2 separate regions of the Homo sapiens genome follow, and region 2 is linked to region 1. Evidence: promoter capture Hi-C in 16 types of primary human blood cells and fetal thymus (Javierre and others, 2016). All regions are on one chromosome and are shown on one strand. The core of a region is centred on a gene start or on the middle of the fragment in contact, and the rest is flanking DNA. Distances in the headings are between cores, read along the strand shown. Region 1 holds the start of CASR (calcium sensing receptor). Region 2 overlaps GOLGB1 (golgin B1).

What was found. Contacts are between HindIII fragments. The CHiCAGO score rates a contact against its expected background, and 5 or more counts as called.
Region 2: a contact is called between a fragment that was not itself captured here and the fragment with the promoter of CASR in region 1, in 1 of 17 cell types (total B cells). The highest score is 5.3, in total B cells.

The regions. Positions count from the first base shown.
Region 1 is chr3:122,180,048-122,186,328 of GRCh38, forward strand. CASR (calcium sensing receptor) reads left to right here and starts at 3,621. Exons shown (of 7, transcript NM_000388.4): 1 at 3,621-3,765. The HindIII fragment of the contact is 2,199 bases long and covers 1,687-3,885 here.
Region 2 is chr3:121,716,526-121,722,806 of GRCh38, forward strand. GOLGB1 (golgin B1) reads right to left here. Exons shown (of 22, transcript NM_001366282.2): 6 at 5,737-5,853; 7 at 3,121-3,243; 8 at 1,863-1,976; 9 at 212-614. Among named protein-coding and RNA genes, the nearest start is that of GOLGB1, 30 kb to the right of the region's middle. The HindIII fragment of the contact is 852 bases long and covers 1,951-2,802 here.

The DNA of each region.
Region 1 (6,281 bases), core at 2,371-4,870:
CACTCTGTGACTCCATCTCCACCACCAATTTTATTGTTCTCAAGCCATCAGTAAAGTTTACAACACCCCAAAAACGCAGGGTAAGGAAACAGTGATGGAGTAAGATGAAAGAGGGGCTATGTCATTTATGAGATAGGAAAGCCAAAGGAATACCTCTCTGAATAGAGAGCAAAAGAAGGGAGGGATCACAAGGTTAGGAGTTCGAGACAAGCCTGACCAACATGGTGAAACCCCATCTCTACTAAAAATACAAAAATTAACCAGGCATAGTGGCATGCACCTGTAATCCCAGCTACTCAGGAGGCTGAGGCAGGAGAATCGCTTGAACCTGGGAGTCAGAGGTTGCAGTTAGCCGAGATTGTGTCACTGCACTCCAGCCTGGGTGACAGAACAAGACTCAGTCTCCAAAAAAAAAAAAAAAAAGAGGGAGAAGAGAGCTCCAGACTGAGAGAAGGAAATGCAAAGGTCCAACACAGGGTATGCTGGGCACATCCAAAGACCAGCAAGGAAACCAGTATGTGTGAAGACAAGGAAGCTGGTAGAGAGATCAGAGACACAGCCAGGACCCACATGATGATGGCCTTAATGGGCCATGAAATTTACTGAATTTCACTCTGAGACAGGAATCCATTACAGACATGGTTTTGAGCAGGGAAATGACCGAATCCAATTTTATTTTTAAATGTGTCATTGCAGTTGCTTTGGGAAGAACAGCCTGTAGGAAGGCAAGGTCAGTGCAGGAAAACCAGATAGGAGGTTTTCTAAGAGAAAGATGATGCCAGCTTGGATAGGGCTGGTAGTGGTGGAGGTAGGAAAAAGAGGTTGAGTCTGGATGTATTTTGAAAGTCAATCCATCAGGACTTGTAGATGGGTTGGAGATAGTAAGTGAGGAAAAGAGAGGCATCAGAGGTGTCTCAGTAAAGAATTTCCTAATCCAATTGAACAAGCTTCCCCTGATGTAGCTCCTCCAGTGGAAGCATTTAGTCCTTTCACTGGACTGTCTGAATGGTCTTTTCCCTACAGCTTATCTGCCCTATATGTTCCCAAGTGGCTTTCTGTTCTTAGCAGTCAGGGGCCCAGGTGATGTCTACTCACCAAATATTCTTGAACCATAAGGCAATCAGATTATGGTTTTGTACATTATGGATTTTCAGACTTTATGGTTTCAAAATAAATTTCCTATACCAAAGATACTTTTTAACTGCTGGGGACCCTATAAACCCTTTTTTCCCCACACATCCATTTTAATACTAGTCCAAAGGGTTAAAAAAATAGCAAGGGGAGCTGCCTTAGGGGAAACAGAGGCCACACGATATGGAATTTGGGGATGGGAAATGCTGGAACATGAAAGGAAGGAGGAACAGCCCCACCATCTTGGCCCTCGGGGATGTTAGGAATAGAGGGTATACCAAAAGAAGGTGTAAGGGAGTAAATGATTGAAGTGTAAACCTCCCAAATGTTGTCTCTTTCAAAAGTTACCTTAGAGAGAATCTGCTAGTGCTCTGTTAATTATACCATGGTCACAGAGGTGCTGCTATTGTTCTGAGCTTACTTGGAACCCTTTTTTTGGATCTGTCCAAAAGGAGTGAATGTAACTTGCTCCAAAATCTGTGTTTCTAGAGGTTAGATACCTGAGAAGCCCTGCTGTCAAGAATCCCAGATTCTCCTGGTTGGCAGGAACTTTAAAGCTTCTAGCCACAGCGTTTGAGCTCCCAAGGCTGTCCTTCAGCATCTTCCCAGGCAGCCCTGATTCATTGTGGACTGAAACCTTTCTGTCATTCCTTCTATCCACTGGTCATAATAGAGTATGGGCTTGTATTTCCAAAATTTAAACATCACTGGTCCTATTAGTTCTTTTAGATCTTTCTTTCAAGTTGCTCATTTTTCTCATATAAGAAAATTTACCTTAAATGGAAACCACATCACTTTGTCAGTGGAAAACTATGTCAATTGGAACTTAACTGCATAAGGAATAATAACAGATGGAAGAGAAAACAATGATATTAAATTCTACTTAGGAGCTGTTGCCTAGCAAAGGTTCTGAGTGAGAGGCAACCTCTGTCTTTGTTAAAACAGGAGATTAGCAAGTGTTACAGAGGGGTGCAAAGACAAATACTACAAAAATGATACTCCTTCCTTGACATAATCCATAGGAACAAAAGAAGTAAAAAGGGCATATCTTTTTTCACCTTGTGATCCACTGTTATCTAATTGTATTGTCTGTGTACCACCCAATACCATGCTTCCAATCTCTACTGGAAGATGTACACACTGGGACACACTGGTAAAGTGATCAAGCACCAGGACTGTAAGTCAAGCTGATCAGGTTCAGCTCTTGGCTCTGCCAACTCCTAGCCACCCAACCCTAAATACCTGAAACTGTATGCATCAGTTTCTTCGTCTTTAAAATGGAAGCAATAATAGATCTTCAGAGTAATACTTTCTTAAAGATAGTGCCCAAATTTGGACATTATGCCCAGGTGTAATCCGACCAGTGAAGAGCATCAGTTCAGCCTAAGATTGCAGCCTCATTCGGGTTTTGAACTGAACTCGTTCAGCCTTTGGGTGTTCACAAAGCTGTGCTTGTAGCCAACTAAAATAAAATCTAAGGTATTTTGATAGGCACCACTACTGAGCCACATCCTCCATTACTTACATTGCTGGGTGTTTCGGCCTGAGGGAGGACTTCACATTTATTCCTATTAACCAGATTTTGCCCCCTTCACTGGTGCTTTAGCATTTGCTCAGCTCCTTCTCCTACCCTGTATTTGAGGGAAAGGAAGCCAAATGGGCAGAACTTGGCCATAATGAGGATGTGTTTGACATGCTGGATTTGAGTCTGTGTTCCATTGAAGAAAAGAAATGGAAACTTTGTTGAGTATCCATTCTATACAGGGCACTTTCCTTGACTATTTCATTTAACACTCCAAGGACCCCCTGAGGTAGATGTTATCGCCATTTTGCAGAGAAGAAATCTGCATTTTTATTTGAAGTTCTTAAACATGGTAAACGACCCAATTTTCTGCTTTTTGCTTAACAGTATTTTGCAAACATTTTATCATGTTACTTCATGTTTTCCTATTTTTTTTTTGCTTTATAAATAAATACATACTCCCTCCTTATTCTAAAAAGAATTTGAAGCACTTCTGTCTTGATGTTTATCATTTTAATGGTTGTATAATGTCCCATTAAGTCACCCTAATTTATTCAACAAATTTCCTACTGTTGACAGTTTGGCTCTGTTTGCTTTTTGTGGTTTTTAAAATTATTTTCTGTAACAAATGATCCTGCTAAAAAAAAAATCTCCGCACGAATATTATTTTGTTCTGGAAATTTCCGCAAGGGTGGAATACTGCATTAAAGGGGATAATATTTTTGGTGTTTCTTTATAGAGCCTAGCAAATTGCCCACCCAAAGGAGTATGCTTTATTTGAGAGTAAAAAGCCAAAAACAAACAAACACATACAAAAAAACTGGTTTTCTACAAAAGAAATTAATTTTCCACTTATTCATAAAATATTCTAGTGCTGTGATGGGTGGCAGGCACCGTGCCAGGGGCTAGGGACAAGGATAAGCAAGGCCAGGTCCGGGCCTCCAAGCAGCGCGCTGTGGAGTCGGGTAGAGTAGACCAAGTGCAACAGGCACCTGGCTGCAGCCAGGAAGGACCGCACGCCCTTTCGCGCAGGAGAGTGGAAGGAGGGAGCTGTTTGCCAGCACCGAGGTCTTGCGGCACAGGCAACGCTTGACCTGAGTCTTGCAGAATGAGTAAGAGTTTGGGCACGCGATTTGTATTTATTTTACTGTGAATCTCTGGCCTTATATCAGAAAAAAAAAAATTGTGCCACCCTCGGCACAGAGAACGTTGGTGGCGTCGTAAGCGCCCTAAGCTTCTTTCCATCGCCAAGGAGTAGGGGTCAGGGAAGAGGACAGCGGGAACAGGATTTGAGAGCCGGGAACCCCTGGCTCGGCACGGGAGAGGGCAGGAGAGGACCTAAGCGCGGGGCTCGCCGTCTGCTGGGGACCCGAGCCGGCCTGTGGCCCTCGGGGAACCGAAGACGCGCCCTCAGCGACCCTGAAGAGTCAGCTAAGCTCTCTGCGGGCTAAGGAGACGGTGAAGGAACCGGGACTAACTGGGGTAGGGGTTAGAAGGCAGCCCGCGAGTGGGCTACGAGGGGAGCTGGGCTCGGCAGTTGGGGACCCCGAGGGGGCAAGCGGGCGGGGAGCAGGAGAGGGGCGGAGCTCCGGGGCCGGGGCCGGGGCCGCAGCGGCCGCCCAGAGGGTCTGCGGGGGCTGCTGTGGCCGGACCCGAAGGCGGGCGCCGGGAGCGCAGCGAGCCAGACGCGCCTCTCCAAGACCGTGACCTTGGCATAGGGAGCGGGGCTGCGCGCAGTCCTGAGATCAGACCAGAGCTCATCCTCGTGGAGACCCACGGCCGAGGGGCCGGAGCTGCCTCTGTGCGAGGGAGCCCTGGCCGCGGCGCAGGTAGGACCGGGGAACCCAAGGAGGGCGGGAGGAAAGCGCCCCTGGTGGGGGAGGGGCCGTGGCGGGGTCTGGGGGCCAAGGGCTCCGGGCCGAACGAGGGGCACACGCCGGAGCAGCTCCAGCCTGGGAGCATTGGGCGTGAACGTGGGGGAAAGTAGGGACCAGATTACAGGATCAAGGCTTTCCCCGGCTCAGAACTGGATTGTTCAGTGCCCCTAGAAGGGGCAGCGGGTCGCCCACGCGAATGAACGGGAGCGCGCACCAAAACGCCTGCTGTTGGTAGTTTCTTGTGCCTCTGCCTTGTTTCTGCCTGTGATATAGTCAGAAAGGACTCGCTTGCCACGTGTTAACAAGGGGACAGGTAGCTTTTACAGAGTGTATGAATATGGAGGGGAGGGCCACAGAGTCAGCTCTGGCCCCAGGGGCCGTCAGTGCCCCCACAGGATTCCTGGTCCAAGCTACCAGCTGTCTTGGGAACTTTGCTTCAGTGGCATCAAATTAGATTGTCAGTTCCCGGGGCCTGAGCACCAGCCTCCATGTGTATTTCCTGGGGAGAAAAAAAAAAGGCATACCAGACTGATGGAGTCTTATCATTATTTTAACATTATAGCTTTCAATAGATAACATGCATATGTTTCTTTTTTTAAGTCAAATAATACAAACATTTATCTTCTACAGGCAATGCGTGCACTAGCATGTGTGTCTATTGCTGTCTCCTTTCTACACCCATAGCCTTTCCCACTCTACGTGTTCTGTCGCCGTCTTTTGATTCTTTATCCAGAAAATGATGTCACCACCACTGCCCACATCCCTTAATCTCCAGTGTTCCTCCTTGCAACGCCTCTCTTGTCCTCAAATATTTTTCACAAGGTGGTCCTCAGGGTAGGGAGCCTACTAACGAGAAGACATTTCGTTTACTTGCTTCAATTATCCCAGAGATTTGAAGAAAAGGCACATTGGGGAAGAGTCCATGTCAAGTTCTAAACACACTTATCTTTCCCCTTAAACTGGATCTTCCAAGTGCAGTTTAGGTAGTCTGTTACTGAGAGAAATAATGCAGGCTGTTTTCTGAAATGCTCTGGATTTCCAGAACTTAACACCACAGTAGTTCCTATTCCTTAAAACAGAACTTCATCAGTCACACCTTGCTGTTGCTTTTCCCATCTCCACTCCAGGATTCCCTAACTGGCATGCCTAGGATTTTTCCTCTGTAGGAACCTGGGAGAGCGGGTGCTTTATACCTGCCTCCCAGGTGTCCAATGAAGGGGCTGAGGGACAAAGCTTTGTGGTGGACAAAAGGGGAGGGGAAGATGTAGGAGAAGTTGGAGGGGAAGTAGGAAGGAAGAAGCAGGCCAAGACCCTTGAGTAGAGAAGACTCCTCAAGCACAGAGCCCTGTCATTTGGGAACAGTCTCCATATAATTTCTAAGAGACCACACATGCGAGTTACTTCCTGCCAATACAGCACAGTCAGCTCTGTTCCAAGACTTCTATGCTAGACCAAAACATAGTAAGTGAAAAAAAAAAATCAGCAAATCAACCAGTTTTTGTCTCTATGATAAAACAGAGTGGTTGAAATTAAATTAGTTAAAAATTTTCTTTTTTACTGAATTAGCAGGTTCTTTAGGAGCTGTGTCCATTGTTTAAAATCACCTAATAGGTACTCCAGTCTCCACATTTTTCCTTTATTTTGTTTATCTTTTCATATTGCATAACCTTGAACTGGATCCCAACCATGTCAGAAAGTTCAGGCTGATTAGAAGCTGCCACTTCTAAGACTTTTTGGTGGAAGAGAGTGGG
Region 2 (6,281 bases), core at 1,127-3,626, 460 kb before region 1:
GTATTGTAATGATAATTATAATATTAAGAAAGATTATAGCCAGTCAGAGGCAAGAAAAATGCATCAAGAAGTTCAGAAGAGCTGTTTTTCTCAGTCCTTCTATTGGTTCAATTGGTTTGAGTACAGATTTCATTAACAGATCCCTGAAAATATGAAATACAAGCCACTCAGATGGTAGAGATGTGGACTTCAAAAGCAATCAGCTACTGACCTTCCAGTTGCTGAATGGTCTGGGCTGACTGAACTGCTTGCTCATTCTTATCTTGGAGAAGCTTTGAATTTTGATCCTTTAGAGCATCACAGGCAGACTGCAGCTCTTGTCCAGTCTTTTGAAGACTCAAAATATGAGAGGTCTTCTCTTCCATTTCTGCTTTGTGCTTCTGCTCCAAAGCACTATACCGAGACTCTAGTTCAGCCTGGGCTTGGCCTGCTTGCTCAAACTGTTCTAAAAGATGATGCATTTCTTCCTGCAGATTATGGAAGGATAATTTTCTCTCTGCCACTTCAAGTTCCATCTTTTCCAGTAGAATCTTGGACTCCTCTCTTTCTGTTTCCACAGTGTTCCTCAAAGTATTATGCTCAGCTTCCATCTGCTGTAACTGCTGAGAGAGAATCTAAGAAAAAAGACAAAGTCTCATGAGCCATAAATACATTATTTCATTTCAACAAGCATTGTAAAGTGCTTTTTCTTATAGGATGGAAAAAAATGGGAACATGTTTCTATGCTAGAGAGAAAGCCCTTCTCAAGAAGGAGAGTTGAAAATTAAGAAGAGAGGAGATGGCTGACTCCCCAGCAGCACACAGGCACCCAGAAAAACAAACAGAGAATGTGGACTATAGCACCAATTCTGCATTATGATGAGACTACTTGGATGTGACAGGATAGGAACACAAGGAATCCAAGGGGTAGAAAAAAGGTAGTTCAAACTGTCAAGCATGGGTCCATATAGGACACAGAAAGGAGCAAGGGTAAGGAAGAATTAACATACTAGAGAAGCAAAGTGGAATTCAATGGAATTCAATGAGAATGAAGATCAGGACAATATGAGAAAGAAAATGGCAGGATGGATTATAGTCAGATCAGCATTACTGATTACCTTCATACTCAAGAGAATATTGCAGAACGAGATCATTTCAATCTAACAGAAGGTCAATTTACAAAAACAAGAAAAGATGGGCTGTACATAAAGCACAAAAACCATTCAAGACAGAGAAGAGTAACTGATGAAAAAGAAACTCACTAAAGGATAATACAGGTCAAGTATCCCTTATTCTAAATGCTTGGGACCAGAAGTATTTTAGTTTTCCATTTTTTTCAGATGGTGGAATATCTTGGATATCTTGGGATAGGACGCAAGTCTAAACATGAAATTCATTTGTTTCATATACATCGTATACACATAGCCTAAAGATAATTTTATACAGTATTTTAAATGATTTTGTGCATATTTGCCTTTGATCTGTTACCCTGTTCCACAAGGTCAGTTGTGGCATTTTCCACTTGTGGTGTCATGTTGGTGCTCAGAAAATTTCAGATTTTGCAGCATTTTGGATTTTCAGATTAGGCATACTCAATCTGTATGACATTCTAGATAAACTAGGACCCTAGATCTAAAATGGCAAAGGGAAAGAGCAACAATAAAGAAGTGCAATGTATGCTCCATGAGGGAAAGAACTGTATTTAGTTTTGCTCATAATTGTACTGCATCCCCACCACTTAAGTACGAGGTATTTGTTGAAAGAATGAATAAATGGCATCAATTCTCTGAAGACTTTAAATAGGCTTTTATATCTACTGCCTGGCAAACGAAAGTGGAAATGAATACCCTCCAAGGCAGGAAGTAAAGATTAAAAGGCAGTACCTGGTTTCTCTGCTCAGCAGCAGTCAGCTCCTGTTGCAGCAAGTCAACGACCTGAGCACGGCCCACCAAGGATTCTTCGTGTTCCTCAAGCTTCCTTTGCAGCACCCTCAATTTCTGAGAAGAAAACATTTTAGACATAATATGCTAACAAATGAGTGCTTGTATTTGCTTATCTTTCAAAATGTCATGTAGATTTGTATACTTAAATTTTGGGGTGTTGAAAATGACAGTTTAAAGAGTGGGAGACCAGCATGCCATGCTCCCCCCATCCAGCAGCAACGAAGAGTCTCCAAAATGTCTTCTCCAGAGCACCAACAACAACCAGACCCAGACACAAGCAAGTCCCTGAATTAGGGAGTCTCTTTAAAAATTAGAAAAAACAATAACACATATCTGCCTTCAAAATCATACAGTTAATAACCTGTACCTAGATAGCATAGGTACATGTACATCTTACCCACCCAAGAGAACATTCTCTGCAGGCAAGAATCATTTCTCTTCTCCTAGTTTCATGCACTGGGCAGGCACTTGAAAAAAAATTGTTGAATAAATAAAGCAATGATACACATATACAATTAGTATTCTACTTAATAATATGTTGTATTCTAAAACTTTATTTAGTGGTGCATTCTGAAAGATTGCTTAGAACTTAAAAGTTTCCGTTCTAATTAATTCTAATTAATTTTCAATCTAATTAAACAGATCAAACATAAAGTATCACTGAAGTGCCTTTCAGTACCACAATGCACTACACACTAAGTGAAATAAAATACTTTGAGTTAGTAGATGGTGAACTCAAATACAATGAAGCCAATTTTCAAAATCTACTCAAATTTTTTTAAAAAAGAATTACTGATCTAATAAAAGACTTCATGTCTTCAAAATCATTCTTTGTCTTCTCTAATTTTTTAAATATTTAAAACTGACTTCATTGATTTGAAGCTTTGGGTTAGGTGTGTAATGCACAAAGGTAGCTATAATCAGAAAACTGAAGAGAAACCAATTTTTGACTACCACATAAATTCACCAACTAAACTCAGCTTTTGAGCACCAACAACCTGATTAGAGGGGTAAAAGGCAAGAAAAGGATAAGAAAAAATAAATAATTTTTATGCAACAGAAGACAAGGACACAAAAGAGGCCAATAAGGAAAACACTAACACCAAGTGAAGAGCAGTGGGTAAGGGTAGGAAATTGGCTGTGATGGATTAAATATTAACCAAAATGACAGTCATTCTACCGAGTTTTAGCAACACACCTGTTGCATCTCTGTTTCCACATCTGCCTGGGTTACTAACTGAAGAAGCTCATCTTCATGAAGACGAACTTGTGTTTCAAAGCGGGCATCTTTCTCTCGGACCACCTGCTGCATGGAACTCAACTGAAGACACATACCAGAGAAACTATGCAAGTTACACTCCCCGAATATTGCACAAATAAAACTCACAGACTACTTTCCAAGACAGACACTGAGACTTGATAGTAGCTTTTTAAAGTGAAATTTTGATTGTCAAGGATGAGGATGTTGGAAGAGAGATAGGCTGGACAGTAACTATGAAATGCGAGAGAAAGCCTATTTTCAAATTCAGAAGTTAGCCTAAACATAAATTTTGATCAAAAATTATATGTTCATGGTTACTAGAAATGTTTTAAATATACAAGAAGTGTATTTTTTAAAGTTCTAAAAAGATTAAGATATTAAACACATAAGGTGAAGTTAAGTTAGATTTCTATTAAACCCTGGACACTTCTTGCTCATGGCTGAAAAGCTTTCAGTAAAATTCTCATGCCCTATAAATGAAAATTCAAACTAACATATCATTTATTCAAGATTCTCTACAACTGGAAATACCAATCTATCTTTCTAGTCTTATTTTCAAAGAATTGCTTCTACCAAAGAACCTCATGTGCTTCTAAATCCACACCACCTCCCCAGACAGCTGTTTTCAGCTGTCATTACTTGCAGCCTTCTAGATCATGCTCATTTTTAACTGGCTCTGAACAGAATGAAATGGAAATAAATGGACTGATGGTGAGCTGCTCAGTATCAGTGCTTCTGTCTTGTTTTTAGGTTGTGAGTGTGTGCATCTGCTTATTCATCTCCTTAAGATCTATGGTGGAGCATGCTGCTTAGCTGTTAGCTTGCCTATTTTGCATTGGTCCTTTACTGCTGATATCTCAGTTTGTGACACCTTGAATCAAACTTTGGCTTTCTTTTTTGGTAGGAGAAAAACAAATCCTCAGAATGTTTTTATTATCTGAATTGTGACCTCACTAGGAATTTGGACTCTTGTGTTTCAAGTGTGTAGGCACTGGAGTCTTTCATTAGCCAAACATCTCTAACTCCTTTCCCATAACTGTTCCATATTCTTTTCCTTCTCTGCAGTTTTGCTCACACCGTTCCCCATCACTGAAATATCTCCCCCAGCTTGTCTGGAATATTATCTATATATCATGGTTTTGCCTAAATCCCAACTTTTCCGTGTAATTTTCCTTAACTGTCAAACTCACAGTAACCTCTTTCGCCTTCCAAAATATTTTGTTTGTATTGCTGCTTGCTTTGGCACTTATTCGGAAAGCCTTAAATTACGATGAATCTCTTAACACATGTATGTATCTTGGCTTTCCATATTTTAGCAACACATAGGTTAAAAACCATATTTTGTATTTCTTCATCCTGCACTGTATATAGTGCTTATACATAAAAAGGACACAATAAAAAATAAATAAAAAATTTAAAAAGGACACAATAAAAGCTAATAGGTAAAACCAAGAATTTCAGGATATACAATTTTAACTGTATACATAGCAGTAGGCCAACCACAGAGAGAAGGCACTACTAATACTACAAATTATTAATAAAGTAAACACCTAATGGATAATTAGCTATGTACAAAGGTACTTCAGGGAAAAAAATCTTTCATGATTCATAAGCATTCCCCCACCGCTGCCCCCACCCCCCAAAAAAAATTACAGTGCCTGTAATCCCAGCACTTTGGGAGGCCGAGGTGTGAGGATCACTTGAACTCAGGAGTGCAAGGCCTGCCTGGGCAACATATTGAGAACCTGTCTCTTCAAAAAATGTAAAAAATTTAGCCAGATGCAGTGGCACATGCCTGTAGTCCCAGCTACTTGGGAAGCTGAGGTGAGTGAGAGGATGGCTTGAGCCCAGGAGACTGAGGCTGCAGTGAGCTATGATTGTACCACTTGTACTCCAGCTTGGGCAACAGAGTGAGACCCAATTTCAAAAATAAATATGTGGGAGTGCGTGGCCAACCAAGAAACCTAGAAAAATAGAAAAAGTTGAGGATGCCAATCCAAATGGTCTGGTCTTGACAGATGAAAAAAATGGGAAGAAGAATGTCACATACTGGTGCCATTTAACATAAAATCACATGACCTACACCACTTTCTCATTACAGGCTCACTAAGTAATCTAACTATAATTTATTTCCTATTAAGATAGATATTATTTTGGGAAAGAATGAACCTAATTATTTTTATTTCTTTTGGTTTACTTATTGGTCTCTTTTGAACTCAGCATGAGTCCATTCCCAAAAGACTGAATCTCTGTCTGCTATTAAAATTAAGTTTCTGGACATGCAGAACTAAGAAACAGTCATCAATTAGGCTATAGAAAATTCATCAAGGTAAATAACACATTGTGAGGTTTTCTGGTGTTCCCTAATGACACACTTACCTACCACACATCTCCTAATCTCTTCTACTACATATCCTTCTAATTTCTAGTGCAACACCCATGCTACTATACTTTTATCTACTAGGATTTTTTAAAGTGACTCACTGAATTGACTTGTGCGTAATAACCCACTGGACTTCATAGCTCTTTATCCTAATTTTGTGAGGTCCCTACCTGTGCAGCTTGCTCTGCCTGTGTCTGGCTGAGCTGGGCTTGTAAAGTGCTAATGAATTCTTCCTTCTCCTGGAGCTGTTGCTTCATCATTACAAATTCTTCCATCTCTGTAGAACTCTTATCAAACCGAAGACATAGAAGGAAAAAAAATTATTTAAGCAAAAGAATGAGCATTATTAATTCTTTGACCTCCCTTTCTTGCTTAACCTAAATGCCTACCATATTTCCTTCTAGTTTCCATTGAACCCAAAAGGAAATTGCATGCATTATCAAAATTTTATTTGTCAGAAGAAGACAGAAGCAGTAGTGGCAATTTTTCAATTTCTCTGACTCCTCACATAGAGACAGCACAAGATAGTAAAACCAAAAAAACCACAGATAACATTTACAGTTAAATTAGGCAGACCGTCCTAAAAACCCTAAAATATAAGCTAATAAGGACAAACCACCAAAACCCACAAGAACTACATTGTATTAGAGTCTTACATTGTGTAAGAAAAAGAAGGCAGCAAAAGAGTGAAATCTGATGGGTCTGAGAAAGGGAC